Linked DNA regions of Homo sapiens: all the other regions are linked to region 2. Evidence: promoter capture Hi-C in 16 types of primary human blood cells and fetal thymus (Javierre and others, 2016). All regions are on one chromosome and are shown on one strand. Each heading gives the region's core, a stretch centred on a gene start or on the middle of the fragment in contact. The rest is flanking DNA. Distances are from core to core; before and after follow the strand shown. Region 1 has its middle 23 kb from the start of COMMD2. Region 2 holds the start of TM4SF1 (transmembrane 4 L six family member 1). Region 3 overlaps COMMD2 (COMM domain containing 2). Region 4 has its middle 30 kb from the start of GYG1. Region 5 overlaps ANKUB1 (ankyrin repeat and ubiquitin domain containing 1).

Evidence for each region. The method cuts DNA at HindIII sites, captures the fragments that hold promoters and counts their contacts. A CHiCAGO score of 5 or more calls a contact.
Region 1: a contact is called between a fragment that was not itself captured here and the fragment with the promoter of TM4SF1 in region 2, in 3 of 17 cell types (M0 macrophages, M1 macrophages and M2 macrophages). The highest score is 9.5, in M0 macrophages.
Region 3: a fragment that was not itself captured here is called in contact with the fragment with the promoter of TM4SF1 in region 2 in 2 of 17 cell types (M1 macrophages and M0 macrophages); the score reaches 6.7 in M1 macrophages.
Region 4: a fragment that was not itself captured here is called in contact with the fragment with the promoter of TM4SF1 in region 2 in 1 of 17 cell types (megakaryocytes); the score reaches 5.2 in megakaryocytes.
Region 5: a fragment that was not itself captured here is called in contact with the fragment with the promoter of TM4SF1 in region 2 in 2 of 17 cell types (M2 macrophages and M1 macrophages); the score reaches 6.1 in M2 macrophages.

What each region holds. Positions count from the first base shown.
Region 1 is chr3:149,727,945-149,730,644 of GRCh38, forward strand. No RefSeq gene overlaps it. Among named protein-coding and RNA genes, the nearest start is that of COMMD2, 23 kb to the right of the region's middle. The HindIII fragment of the contact is 3,060 bases long and covers 1-2,700 here.
Region 2 is chr3:149,376,375-149,379,074 of GRCh38, forward strand. It overlaps TM4SF1 (transmembrane 4 L six family member 1), which reads right to left and starts at 1,275. Exons shown (of 5, transcript NM_014220.3): 1 at 997-1,275. The coding sequence starts at 1,173. TM4SF1-AS1 (TM4SF1 antisense RNA 1) reads left to right here and starts at 1,404. Exons shown (of 2, transcript NR_109810.1): 1 at 1,404-1,941. The HindIII fragment of the contact is 5,350 bases long and covers 522-2,700 here.
Region 3 is chr3:149,749,466-149,752,165 of GRCh38, forward strand. COMMD2 (COMM domain containing 2) reads right to left here. Exons shown (of 5, transcript NM_016094.4): 3 at 1,938-2,020; 4 at 1,213-1,386. Among named protein-coding and RNA genes, the nearest start is that of COMMD2, 1.7 kb to the right of the region's middle. The HindIII fragment of the contact is 2,270 bases long and covers 282-2,551 here.
Region 4 is chr3:148,959,991-148,962,690 of GRCh38, forward strand. No RefSeq gene overlaps it. Among named protein-coding and RNA genes, the nearest start is that of GYG1, 30 kb to the right of the region's middle. The HindIII fragment of the contact is 935 bases long and covers 977-1,911 here.
Region 5 is chr3:149,784,734-149,787,433 of GRCh38, forward strand. The region is part of intron 2 of ANKUB1 (ankyrin repeat and ubiquitin domain containing 1); the gene reads right to left. Among named protein-coding and RNA genes, the nearest start is that of ANKUB1, 6.5 kb to the right of the region's middle. The HindIII fragment of the contact is 4,947 bases long and covers 1-2,700 here.

The sequences.
Region 1 (2,700 bases), core at 186-2,685, 350 kb after region 2:
CACTCGCTTCAAGGGAACTTCTCATAATCAGCCCTGGGATTACGGCAACCTAAAGGTCTTGTTCTCCTTTCAATGTTTCTACAGATGTGTGCCATCTTGCATTTCTAGATGGTAAATTAAATTCTGCCTATGCTATTTTATGCCTCTTTTTTCTTTTTTAAAAATGATTTTACTAGTACAATTGGAGGAAAAGGAGTCTGGTGAGGGTGGCTTGGAGAATAACTGGTTGGTCACCAGGACGGGATAGCACCTCTGGTTCTAGTGAGATTTATGGAAGGGGCTTTGTTCTGGAATGTGGTACTCAGCTTTATTAACTCAGAAACTTAAATGTTAGCACACACAGACACAATGGGACTCTAAGGGCTGATGAATGCCAATTAATTAACTTGCAATGGGAAACATAACGTAGCAAGCCTCAAATCCAAGTTTGCTGGTTAGCACATTTTCTGTCTATGGGAAACTTAAGAAGCCAAATTATAACCAGAAGGGTAGTTGGTGACAGCCAGTTCTACAACAGTGAGTTTTCAACTAGGGAGGGTTGCCCTTCTCTGGGGGATAGGCAGAAGGAAGGGGACTTTTTTTTTTTTTGAAACAGAGTCTTGCTCTGTCGCCCAGGCTGGAGTGCAGTGGCGCGATCTTGGCTCACTGCAACCTCTGCCTTCCAGGTTTAAGAGATTCTCCTGGGCCGGGCGCGGTGGCTCACGCCTGTAATCCCAGCACTTTGGGAGGCCAAGGCGGGTGGATCATGAGGTCAGGAGATCGAGACCATCCTGGCTAACAAGGTGAAACCCCGTCTCTACTAAAAATACAAAAAATTAGCCGGGCGCGGTGGCGGGCGCCTGTAGTCCCAGCTACTCGGGAGGCTGAGGCAGGAGAATGGCGTGAACCCGGGAAGCGGAGCTTGCAGTGAGCCGAGATTGCGCCACTGCAGTCCGCAGTCCCGCCTGGGCGACAGAGCGAGACTCCGTCTCAAAAAAAAAAAAAAAAAAAAAAAAAAAAGAGATTCTCCTGCCTCAGCCTCCTGAGTAGCTGGGACTACAGGCGCATGCCACACCAGCACACCTGGCTAATTTTTGTGTTTTTAGTAGAGATGGGGTTTCACCATGTTGGTCAGGCTCGTCTCGAACCCCTGACCTCGTGATCTGCCCACCTCAGCCTCCCAAAATGCTGGAATTACAGGTGTGAGCCACCGCACCCAGCCTGGAAGGGGATTTTAGGGGAGTGTGTGTGTGTGTGTGTGTGTGTGTGTGTGTGTGGTATTTTTCTTTTAGCATATATAATTAGAAAAGGCATATCCAATGTTATAATTCAACAATATTTGGGGGGGAAATTTAAAACTCTTGCGTTCATAACAAAAATTGTAAAAAATAAACCTTAACAAAATGTTCCTGGCTGGTGACTCAGCTGGGGGCAGGGGGCAGGGTGGGAATCTACAAATCAAACTCTCTCTGGAGAATCTAAGATTTTTCATTTTTCAAAATGAAGCAAGAAAACATTGTTTACTGAGGCACTAAACAAAAGCCATACGTGGGGCAACTTAAGTTTGCAGGATCCAAATCAATTTTCCGTTCTCAAGTTCTTCTCACTAAACAGTGTTATGATTAATCTAATCATGCTTAGTTTTTTAGTAGTCATTAACTGTGGGAATTGATGTAGAAATCTGGGTTACTTATAAAGTATGTACTTTATAGTACTGTACTATGTACTATAAAGTAGTGCTACAGTTTTGTGACCAAATTCTGCAGCCAGCCAAAACCACTGTATGGGTAAAGCAGACATTGATAGTCTCAGCATTGATTTATCTCCCTTCTTCCTTTCTAAAAGATCCCACTTTCATTTGGGGATTGCTGTGTTTCCTGGGAAGAGGACTCTACTCCTACTATATTCCAACCTCTTAAATGCAGCAATTGGTTGGTAACCTAAACCAGTCCAATCAAAGTGAATCTGAAAGACTTTTCTTATGATGTTAATGACAAAGACGGGCTCATTTTCCTGGTGCCTTTAGTAGCCACCTATGGCCACAAGAAGAGTCTAAATTAGGAGAAAGAAAACGAAGACAGGAAAGCGAAGCAGAGAGATACTGGGGCATTGGGGCCATCTCTAGGCCACTGGATCATGTTTGCCTGAACCAATACTACCTCTGGACTTGACAGTTATTTGTACCAACAAACTCTTTTTTAATTGTTCCAGCTATTTTTAGTTGTAATTGAAAGCACGTGGGTGGATCAGGGTTCTGCTGAATCTGGACTGTTTGATTTTCTTGTTCTTCGACCGGCTTGAATATCAGTCATTGAAGCAAGTCATAGAGAAATGGCTGTAGTAAAACTGTCATGTTCTTAATTTTTGCTGTACATCAGAATCACGTGGAGAGCTTTAACAGATGCCACGCCAGTTAAACCAGAATCTATAAAGTTGGGACTCAGGAATCAGAATTTTAAAAAATTCTCAAGTAATTCCAGTGAGCAGCCTCGGCTGAGAACCACTGGTCTAAGTATCTTGTTCTGTCCATTCAGTGGGGTCTGCAGACAACATGTCCTAAATATGTCTTTCCATTAAAGAAAAAAAAAAAGCTGACATGTAACTTGTGAGGTTAATGCAAACCATACTGATGTGACAGAAAAGCAAAATGTGTGCAAATTTTGTACTCTATTCCATATTATAATCCTTTCTCTCTCGCTCCCTTTCACCCTTCAACATTTA
Region 2 (2,700 bases), core at 25-2,524:
TAAATTTGAGGCAGACGGGCACTGTGGCTCATGCCTGTAATCCCAGCACTTTGGGAGGCCAAGGTAGGAGGGTCACTTGGGCCCATGAGTTCAAGACCAGCCTGGGCAACATGGCGAAACCCCGTCTCATTAAATAAAATAAAATTAAATAAAATCTCATTAAATAAATAATTTAGGGCAGATTTGCCATGCCATAATCAGTGTATTAGGTTTAAATGTTTTACTATCTTTTACTTGATTAAGAAAATTTATCACGTATGGTACCATTCCATAAAATTTCTCCTTAAAATTTTTAATCCCAGCACTTTAAAGTAGCAAACTTAAGTTTGCTCACATTCTTTCCATGCTGTGGTTGAAGCTAATGCTTTCAGCTCCCAGGTTGGCAGGGAAATTCCTCTCACTTCAATCAAAAACAATTCTTGGAAAAAATAACACATTCCACTATTAGCTTCAGACACCGACCTGCTGCTAACTGTAGGGTTTTTCCTAGACGCCACACCCCAGCCTTACATAAAGGAGAAAGCTTAGAGTTCTTTTAAAATAGCAATGCACTCACAATTCATTATTTTTCCCTATCACAGATGGCTGAAAATAAACAGCAGAGAATTTGGATTCAAAACTGTTGATTTAGGCAGAGAACCAGCCAACCCCTTCCGGCTCCCCAGAGCAAATGTTAAATGACTGCCCGTTCTAGTAGAAACTCTATAGTCTCTCAAATCTGATTTAAAAGCGAATATCTGTTTCCTACCTATAGAGTTTAGCAAAAAGGCAGTTCACTTTTAGTTGAAAGAGCATTTTGTAAAACAACATCTCATAAAATTACTACGCTATACTGTACCAATCTCGCTTTTGTATAATCTGCTTTCAAAGGAATGAACAGCAACAAAAAAGTCACTTGATTTAGAAATATGCATTACAAAAAACTTTCCATGAAAATACATAATGAAAACATCTAGGAAACAGGAGAGAATTCAGTAATAATCCTGAATGACTTACCAGCAGGCCACCTCCTACGATGCCAGAAAAGAACCACACGAAGCGGCTGAGGTGGTTTTCGGAGGCATACTTTGTTTCCCCATTGGGAAAGTAAAGCAAAATATTAGCCGCGATGCACAGGAGGGCGAGCCCCACCAGAGAATGTCCGATGCATCGTGCACACTTCCCATAGCACATGGTGGTCTGCTAGGTTTTCTCCCCCTTCTCTTTGTCTTCAGCTCAGTGATACCCCAAATTAGATGAAAGTGTGCCCTTCTGGTGGAGAAAGCAAACACCACTCTCAGCCCATTCCTGCTACCTCTTAAATACTGCGATTCTTAGTCACTGAGGGGATGAGGTACTTTGCTTTCATTGGTCCTAATGGCAGGCTCTGGCTGTGGTGCGAAGAGGCAGGGGGAATGTCCCGCCCTTCAGACGAAATCCTTGGGACAGGCAAAACCAGGGGCAGGATGTGAGAAACAGCCTCAGTCATAGGCAACAGGGAAAATGATTAATCTTGAACAAGGCATTGACTGTGCAACTCCTCCACAAGATAAAGAATCAACAGGAAAGCCTAACATGACTTTCCAGTAACTGCCAAGTGTCCGAGATGCAACAGCCCTGGTTGAGGCTTTGAAAGACAGTGAGCTGTGCCCCTGCTCCATGCAGCTGTCTGGACAGCTTCCAATCTGAGAGCTCTGTGTTCATTTCTACCTTTGTGCTGATTTAATTTACAACCTGGGGCAAATCTCCTGAGCTCATTTCCTTGTCTATTAAATACAAGGTGTCTGAGACGTCTCCCATGGATTTGAGAAGGCTGTTGGGAAAACTACAGAGCAAACTTCTTTACTCTGCCTACAGCAAGCTCTGCAGGATGGATTTCAGTGTTCAGCGTCCCTGGACATCTGCCTCTAAAACAAATCTGCACCACAACAGAGGTGGCATCAGTCAACACAAAGGGCTCAGGTGCTTTTTAAAAATTATTGAGTGTTGCTGTCAGGAAAAGCAATGCCAGGAAGGGCCAAGGAAGGCCTAAAGCATGGGACAAAAATAAAAAGAGGAAGAAGAGAGGGGGAGGAAGAGAATGGGAGAGAAGGAAAGAGGAAAGGAGGAAGGAAGAGAGGAAGGAAAGAAGAGAAGGAGGGAGAGAAGGAGAGAGGGAAAAAGGGAGGAAGGGAGGGAGGGAGGAAGGAAGGAAGGAAAAAAGGAAGGAAGGATGGGGGGAGGGAAGGAAGGAGGGAGAGGGAGAAAAAAATAAGACAAAGGGACTTGGCAAGCAGAGTGGAGAAACAAGGTTCAGAGAAACAGAACTGGCTAGGAGTGTCAGAACCCACACAGAGGTAAACAGATGGTTTACCCAGCCAGATCCTGAGACCAGCTTCCACAGGCTCCCCACACAGGGCAGAGAAAGGGTGTTAGACTAACTTTCTAGGTGGTTACCTTGCAGAAGGAGGGGCTGGGCACTGAATAAATTTATGCCTTGAACAGCAGATTGCACCAGCCAGTGGATGGTGGTGGGAGGTGGACAGGGTGGCCGGGTGGGGCCAGGCCTGGAGGGCCTTGTCACCAGGACAAGATAGAGAGTACAGAAAATAGAAAAGGACCAAGGTAGGGAGGCATTAGCTTAGAAGAAGAAGGTGAATGAGGTTCACGAATCTAGAGTCTGAAGGATTTGGCCCGGAACTAGAGGGCGGGACACATACCAAATTTGAGGAGACCAGCTGT
Region 3 (2,700 bases), core at 167-2,666, 370 kb after region 2:
GAAAAGAAGCTTTAAAAAATCCTGATGCTCAGGCTGAACTCTATACCAATAAATCAGAATCTCTGGGTATAACACACAAACATCAGAATTTCTGTAAAGCTCCCCAGGTTATTCCAACATGAAGTCAAATTTGAGAACAAGTGCACTATAATACATATTCATATGCTCATTTGCATATCCATGTGGGCTTTTACAACATATTCTGCCTTCTCTACTAAGAATATTTACCCTAATTTTCTCTATTCATTCATCCTTCTGAAATTTCATTTCCTTTTGCTGGAAGCTTTCTTGGATCACGCCAGCACATACACACAACTACACGTGTTGTTGTTGTTGTTGTTGTTTTTGTTTTAAACAGTTGTCATCTTCATTCATATAATTATATTCTTTATTCCCCATCAAGAACCTTATTTTATAACTACCTTTAATTACTAGTTATTTTGAGAATGCCTAATATCCCTAACCAAGGTGATACGATCTTTTCCAGCTGAGAAAGTATCTTACACTTCTTTTGTGTCTCAAAGCATTTAGCACAGCTCTAATCAGCAAATAGATGGCATTCAATACACATCTACTAACTCATCTCTCTCTGCTTAATAAAGGATTATAAGCAATGGTCTGAATACACCCTTTCGTTTCTGTGACTTTAAAATCAACTGAAAGATGAATCTCACAAAAAGAATATTGTGAGAGAAGCCAGGTACAAAAGAATATTTACTGAGTCATTCCATATATACAAAGTTAAAAGACAGGTAAATGTAATTTGTGTTAAAAGTCAGGATGCTGGTTACCTTTAGAAAGGAGTGAAGGGGCAGTAATTAGGAGGCAAGGAGGATGCTTCTGGGGTGTGAGTCACAGTTAAATGCACCATGTGATAATTCATTGAGCGGTACATTGACCTGTGCACTTTTCTACATCTGTTAAATTTAAACAGAAAAGTTTTTAAACATCTAGGCACCAACCTAAAAAATCTATATAACCATCTCCTTTTCGAAAATAACCAATTTCTTACAAACTTTGCAAATTAAACTGATTTGAACACACTGAAAATAAAAGAAAATGAATGATTTGTGAAATGGCTTAAAAATGAACATTAAAAAAACAAAGTTTCAAACCGCATCTTAGTTAAGGTGGTAAAGAATACAATAAACAGGACACAAACCTAAAATAATTCTTATATTCTATGTTAAGTTAATTTTAAAAATGCTATACCTGTACATCTAGTCGCCATTCAAGGTTATGATAACTGGGAAGGCTTGGTGCCAATTCACTCAGAATCGTTCTGATCTCTTTTCTGTTGTCCAGATAAAGCTGAAGCAACAATTTGTTTAATTCTTCAGAGAATCCCAGAACAAAAACAGAGTCTTGGAAATCCAGTTCAGAAATCTAAGTGAATTGAGTTTAAAAGAACATCAAAATTTATCTTTGTCTAGCTAAAATAATTGAAATACACAAAAGAATATGATATCCTCTAATTTATTCTGTCTAGTAAAAGAAACAGCATTCCTTAACCACTGACCACCATTCCAAAATCTGTGTTACCAATACATAAAAGTACTTTACTAAAGTATAAAATGGAAAAAATTGTTAAGATGCCCAGTTTCCCTTCCTGTCCTTCATCAAGCCAGATACTGCTGATACGCAAACAAAATACTGATACAGTCTCCCTCCTCTTATGTATCTTCTTAAGATACATATATGGTTTAACAACATGCAGAATTAGAGGTACTTCTATACTAGCTATTTATACTAGCAAGAGGTATTCATATCAGCAGATGATATGATTTTTATTTTTTAGGTATGTCTTCAAAAAATCAATTATAAACCATTAACAACATTATTAAAACACACAGGTACCTGCCAGGACTATGATGTAGAGTACACCAGACCGTTCTTAAGAATCCAGCCAACACAAAACAGTCCAGAAAATCCCTTACCATGAGCTTTGAGCTCTCAGTGAGGAGATACGTTAATCCTTCCACACCATGCTGGACAGTGTCACTACTCACATTGAGTTTTCCTGAGAAAGAAAAGTAAAAACGAGCAAATAAATTACTACTGTAGTATTTATCTTGTTCATATTTGTATTTAAAAATAAACACTATTCATTATTACATGTTTTCAAACACTGCATGAAAAACAGTAAGTTGGCCAGAGGCTCCTGCTCCTTGTCATTCCACTCCCAGCCAAATGCCTTTGGTATTTCCCACCAAGTAACCTTAACAAAATGCAGAACTGTGGAGACTAGTATCAGGTGCGTAGCCCTTCTCTTGAATACGTAGCTCCTTCAAGTCTGGCAGAAGAGGAACTCGACAGGGATTGACTTAATCCCAGAGACTGCCTCTTACCCAGGGGTAAAACAACACTTTTTTTTTTTTTTTTAGCAAAAGCGGATATCTGAACAACTAATAATGATAACCAAATACTTGCAATTTACAGTTGACCCAGCTATTCCACAGACTTTGGTATATTTATACAAAACACTTTTCAGTATTTCTGAAAGTAAGGTGGTATTATGTACATTTTACCATGAGAAAACTGATTTAATAGAAGCTTTAACAATCTCACAGCTACTTAAGGGACGGGCAGGATTTGCACCCTGACTGAAGAGCTCTGCTGGTTTTATTCTACTACAATCGGAACAAGACCCTAGGACTCGCAATAATCCGTTTCTCTCCCGGGAGACAGGGAATGGCTCGC
Region 4 (2,700 bases), core at 194-2,693, 420 kb before region 2:
AAAGACATACCCAAGACTGGGCAATTTACAAAAGAAAGAGGTTTAATTGGACTTACAGTTCCACATGGCTGGGGAAGCCTCACAATTATGGTGGAAGGCAAGGAAGAACAAGTCATGTCTTACATGGATGGCAGCAGGCAAAGAGAGCTTATGCAGGGGAACTCCTCTTTTTAAATCCATCAGATCTCGTGAGACTTATTCAGTATCACGAAAACAGCACAGGAAAGACTTGCCCCCATGATTCAATTACCTCTCACCAGGTCCCTCCCACAAGTTCCACAGGTTCCCTTCCCACTTGGGAATTCAAGACAAGATTTGAATGGGGGCACAGCCAAACCATATCATTGCCTAATTGTATTTTTCTTCTTGCTGGATTATTAAAGAGCCTCAGTATCATCTTTAAATGTTATTAGCTTAATAAGAATGAGAATGTGAGACTGTCAACATTAAATCAAAGAAGTGTTTTGCTTCGCTTTGTTTCATGTGATGGGACTATATCTAGAAGGCGTGATAAAAGGAGGGTAGCCCATTTAATTATACATCATAAATTGTTACCAGACATTTGGAATTAGGAAAAGTACATCAGGAATTACAAGGGCCAGCACATGTGAAAAAGGCTTAATTGAGACCATGAATTTGGAAATAGCTAAAGAGGCAGTTTATCTTACTGCTATTATATCTTCTAGTGTTGTTATGCTCTGGATTGGCTTGAATCACATAAAAATGGTTCTAAAAGGGATATGGAATCCATGTTTTATGAGTAGAGATTAAGTTATTTATTTGATATTCCATCACATAAATTTGGGAGCTAGACAAATCTGCATTCAAATCCCAGATCTCCCATTTGCTGTGAGAATCTGGCCAAGAAAGTTCATCCACCTCTAAAATAAGCATAAGAACACCAACCTCCAAGTTTTTCGTAAAAATTAACTTATGTAAGATACATCATACACATAGCAGTTTGTAGCACATATTAAGCTTTCAGCAGGTGGTAATGATTACCACCACTAAAATAATAGTAATAACATTTTCACCCCTCTTTGCTTTCTCAAACACTTCTCTAGATTCTAATCAGACAAACTTACCTTGAAAGCAGATATCAGCAACCTGGAATATTGTGGCAAAGGCAGCCCAGAAATTGTATCAGACATTGTACTTCCAGTGTCTTCCACTAACGTGCAAAAGTGTGCTCAGTGTATCCTGGGCCACCCTCCTCTTCATATCACCCTCCTACCACCGGGTCTCCTGAGTCCTCCTCTCCTTCCAGCAAACCCATCCATGCATACCATCCTCTGCCCTGCCCCAGTGTTACTCCTTCTCTCACCCTCCCCTCTTTAATCAAAACTCTCTTTCCTTCAGGATGGTTATATTCTTTGTGTGCTAGGACAAAAGTACCAGCAGTTTCCTCATCAGCCAACTGAGAGAGTAAATGAAAAGCTCCCAACTGCGCCAAGCCCTCATGTGGCCTCAGTAAATGTGAGTGCTCATCCCTCTTGTGTAAGATAGGAGATCCGTACAGGTTTACCTCTAAAACCCTGGGATTACACAGAAATTTAGAGCAAAGTATGAAGCCAGGGTAGTTTGTATGCTGGCAGAAAAGTTTTCTTAACCACTTTCTCCCCAACCCACACACCTCAACTAATCTTTATTTGGTAGACTATGATATATTTAAAGATATCTGAAGAAACTGTGTCACCACCCAGCCAACACAAAAAAGCCAAAACACTATCAAAATCCTCACCAGCCCACTTCCGAATAGTGGCTGGCCCCTGCTCCCCATACAAATATTGCTAGAGTATTTAAAAATAGAGTTAGCACCTGTTAAGGATGTTTGTGGACAGTCCAAGAAAACGTAGATCAGCTTCATCCTGGAAGGACCCTTGACCAAAAGCTGTGACCTCAAGCATGACAAGCTTTTTTGAGCAGAACTAAGAGCAAGATAGGCACCCCGTAACTAAGAGCAGCGTGGGTACCCCAGGGTAAGTATTCTGGTAACATTTGCTGAATTCAGGCTGGAGCAGTGACCTGATCGAGAGGTGGCATTTGCCATTAAGGCAGATTTGGAATTTGATGGGCTGGTTTGTCAAGCAAAGGACCATCCATGGGACTGATGGCTCCGTAAGAACCTAGTAATGGAATTATGTGCCTGGGATACACAGCTGGCAATTATATTCTCCACTTCAGGCAGCAATAAAGATAAAGTGCTTTATAATGTATTCATTCATTTCAATACAGTCAGTAGTGATGTTAGAATGGGGTTCCTATCAAGAAAAGGCAGAACTGCATTTGAGAAGGAAAAATGTGCTTTCTTAAAGAGATTATTTTAGAAAACACATGAATGTACATCAGAAATTTCATTAAATAAGTCAATTTGGCAGGTGATCCTAATGGGCTACTGGAAAAGGGGAATTAGAGCAATTGAAACAGCGGAAACAAATGAGCTACAGGTGTGCCTTCTTGTTGTCTCTGTTCTCATTTGGATTATTACAGGCTATGTCAAATACATTTTGAAAAGTTTGTAGTGTATCATCCCAATAATTATATCTGGAGTGTCTAGAAAGCATTGACTAGTTATATGATGGGGAGCTTAAGAGAGGAAATGTGGTTTCTGGGTTGTCCTCTCATAGGCTCAGCAGCTTCTTGATACTTCCCCTTATCCCAAGGCTGTCCTCCCCTCCTCTACCCAGGAGGAGATGAGTC
Region 5 (2,700 bases), core at 182-2,681, 410 kb after region 2:
AGAATACTGGGGAGTGCTTTGCCCTAAGAGTAGAGAAAAATGGGATATGCCACAGTAAGGGAGAGAATGGATCCCTGAAATGCATCTCAGTACCTTGCTATGAATTGCAGACAATCATATACCATCTTGTTAATTTCCATACTTTACCTCTCAAACCTTTATCAATTCATTTATTTAATACCTATTTATGTACAGCCTACTATATATCTTATCTAGTACTATTCTAAGCACTGGGTGAAAACAGTGGACAAAACTTAAGCAATCGTTTCCATGATAACACAGGTTAAAATGAAGGGGGCAAAAGTGATAGTGCCTCTGCATGTTGTACAAAAACATACACTTTTGCAGTGCCTCATGCTATGGTTTATAGGAACACAGTGAACCGCAACACCATCAGCAATAAATCGTCAGGACTGGCTCCTGTATTAATAGAAATTGGAGGTATATACCATAGAAAATATTGATTATGGCTTCCGTAAGAGTTCTTTTCCAAAGAAGGAAAAGTTAATACAATGTTCTTTATTATTATTATTATTATTTATTACATTTTAAGTTCTAGGGTACATGTGCACAACGTGCAGGTTTGTTACATATGTATACATGTGCCATGTTGGTGTGCTGCACCCATTAACTCGTCATTTACATTAGGTATATCTCCTAATGCTGTCCTTCCCCCTTCCCCCAACCCCACGACAGGCCGCAGTGTGTGATGTTCCCCACCCTGTGTCCAAGTGTTCTCATTGTTCAGTTCCTACCTATGAGTGAGAACATGTGGTGTTTGGTTTTCTATCCTTGCCATAGTTTGCTGAGAATGATGGTTTCCAGCTTCATCCATGTCCCTACAAAGGACATGAACTCATCCTTTTTTATGGCAGCATAGTATTCCATGGTGTATATGTGCCACATTTTCTTAATCCAGTCTATCACTGATGGACATTTGGGTTGGTTCCAAGTCTTTACTGTTGTGAATAGTGCTGCAATAAACATACATGTGCATGTGTCTTTATAGCAGCATGATTGATAATCCTTTGTATATATACCCAGTAAAGAGATGGCTGGGTCAAATGGTATTTCCAGTTCTAGATCCTTGAGGAATCTCCATACTGTCTTCCACAATGATTGAACTAGTTTACAGTCCCACCAACAGTGTAAAAGTGTTCTTATTTCTCCACATCCTCTCCAGCACCTGTTGTTTCCTGACTTTTTAATGATCACCGTTCTAACTGGTGTGAGATGGTATCTCATTGTGGTTTTGATTTGCATTTCTCTGATGGCCAGTGATGATGAGCTTTTATTTATTTATTTATTTATTTATTTTTTGAGACAGAGTCTCGCTTTTTCGCCCAGGCCAGAGTGCAGTGGTGCTATCTCGGCTCACTGCAAGCTCCACCTCCTGAGTTCACACCATTCTCCTGCCTCAGCCTCCCCGGTAGCTGGGACTACAGGCACCCGCCAACGCGCCCGGCTAATTTTTTGTACTTTTAGTAGAAACGGGGTTTCACTGTGTTAGCCAGGATGGTCTCGAGCTCCTGACCTCATGATCTACCCACCTCGACCTCCCAAAGTGCTGGGATTACAGGCGTGAGCCACCGCTCCCAGCCTGATGAGCATTTTTTCATGTGTCTTTTGGCTGCATAAATGTCTTCTTTTGAGAAGCATCTGTTCATGTCCTTTGCCCACTTTTTGATGGGGTTGTTTGATTTTTTCTTGCAAATTTGTTTAAGTTCTTTGTAGATTCTGGATATTAGCCATTTGTCAGATGGGTAGATTGTAAAAATTTTCTCCAATTCTGTAGGTTGCCTCTTCACTCTGATGGTAGTTTCTTTTGCTGTGCAGAAACTCTTTGGTTTAATTAGATCCCATTTATCAATTTTGGCTTTTGTTGCCATTGCTTTTGGTGTTTTAGTCATGAAGTCCTTGCCCATGCCTATGTCCCGAATGGTATTGCCTAGGTTTTCTTCTAGTGTTTTTATGGTTTTAGGTCTAACATTTAAGTCTTTAATCCATCTTGAATTAATTTTTGTATAAGGTGTAAGGAAGTTTCAACTTTCTACTTTGGCTAGCCAGTTTTCCCAGCACCATTTATTAAATAGGGAATGCTTTCCCCATTTCTTGTTTTTGTCAGGTTTGTCAAAGATCAGATGGTTGTCAATGTGTGATATTATTTCTGAGGGCTCTGTCTTGTTCCATTGGTCTATATATCTGTTTTTGTACCAGTACCATGCTGTTTTGGTTACTTTAGCCTTATAGTATAGTTTGAAGTCAGGTAGCATGATGCCTCCAGCTTTGTTCTTTTGGCTTAGGATCATCTTGGCAATGCGGGCTCTTTTTTGGTTCCATATGAACTTTAAACTAGTTTTTTCCAATTCTGTGAAGAAAGTCACTGGTAGCTTGATTGGGATGGCATTGAATCTATAAATTACCTTGGGCTGTATGGCCATTTTCACAATATTGATTCTTCCTATCCATGAGCATGGAATGTTCTTCCATTTGTTTGTGTCCTCTTTTATTTCGTTGAGCAGTGGTTTGTAGTTCTCCTTGAAGAGGTCCTTCACATCCCTTGTAAGTTGGATTCCTAGGTATTTTATTCTCTTTGTAGCAATTGTGAATGGGAATTCACTCATGATTTGGCTCTCTGTCTGTTATAGGTGTATAGGAATACTCGTGATTTTTGCACATTGATTTTGTATCCTGAGACTT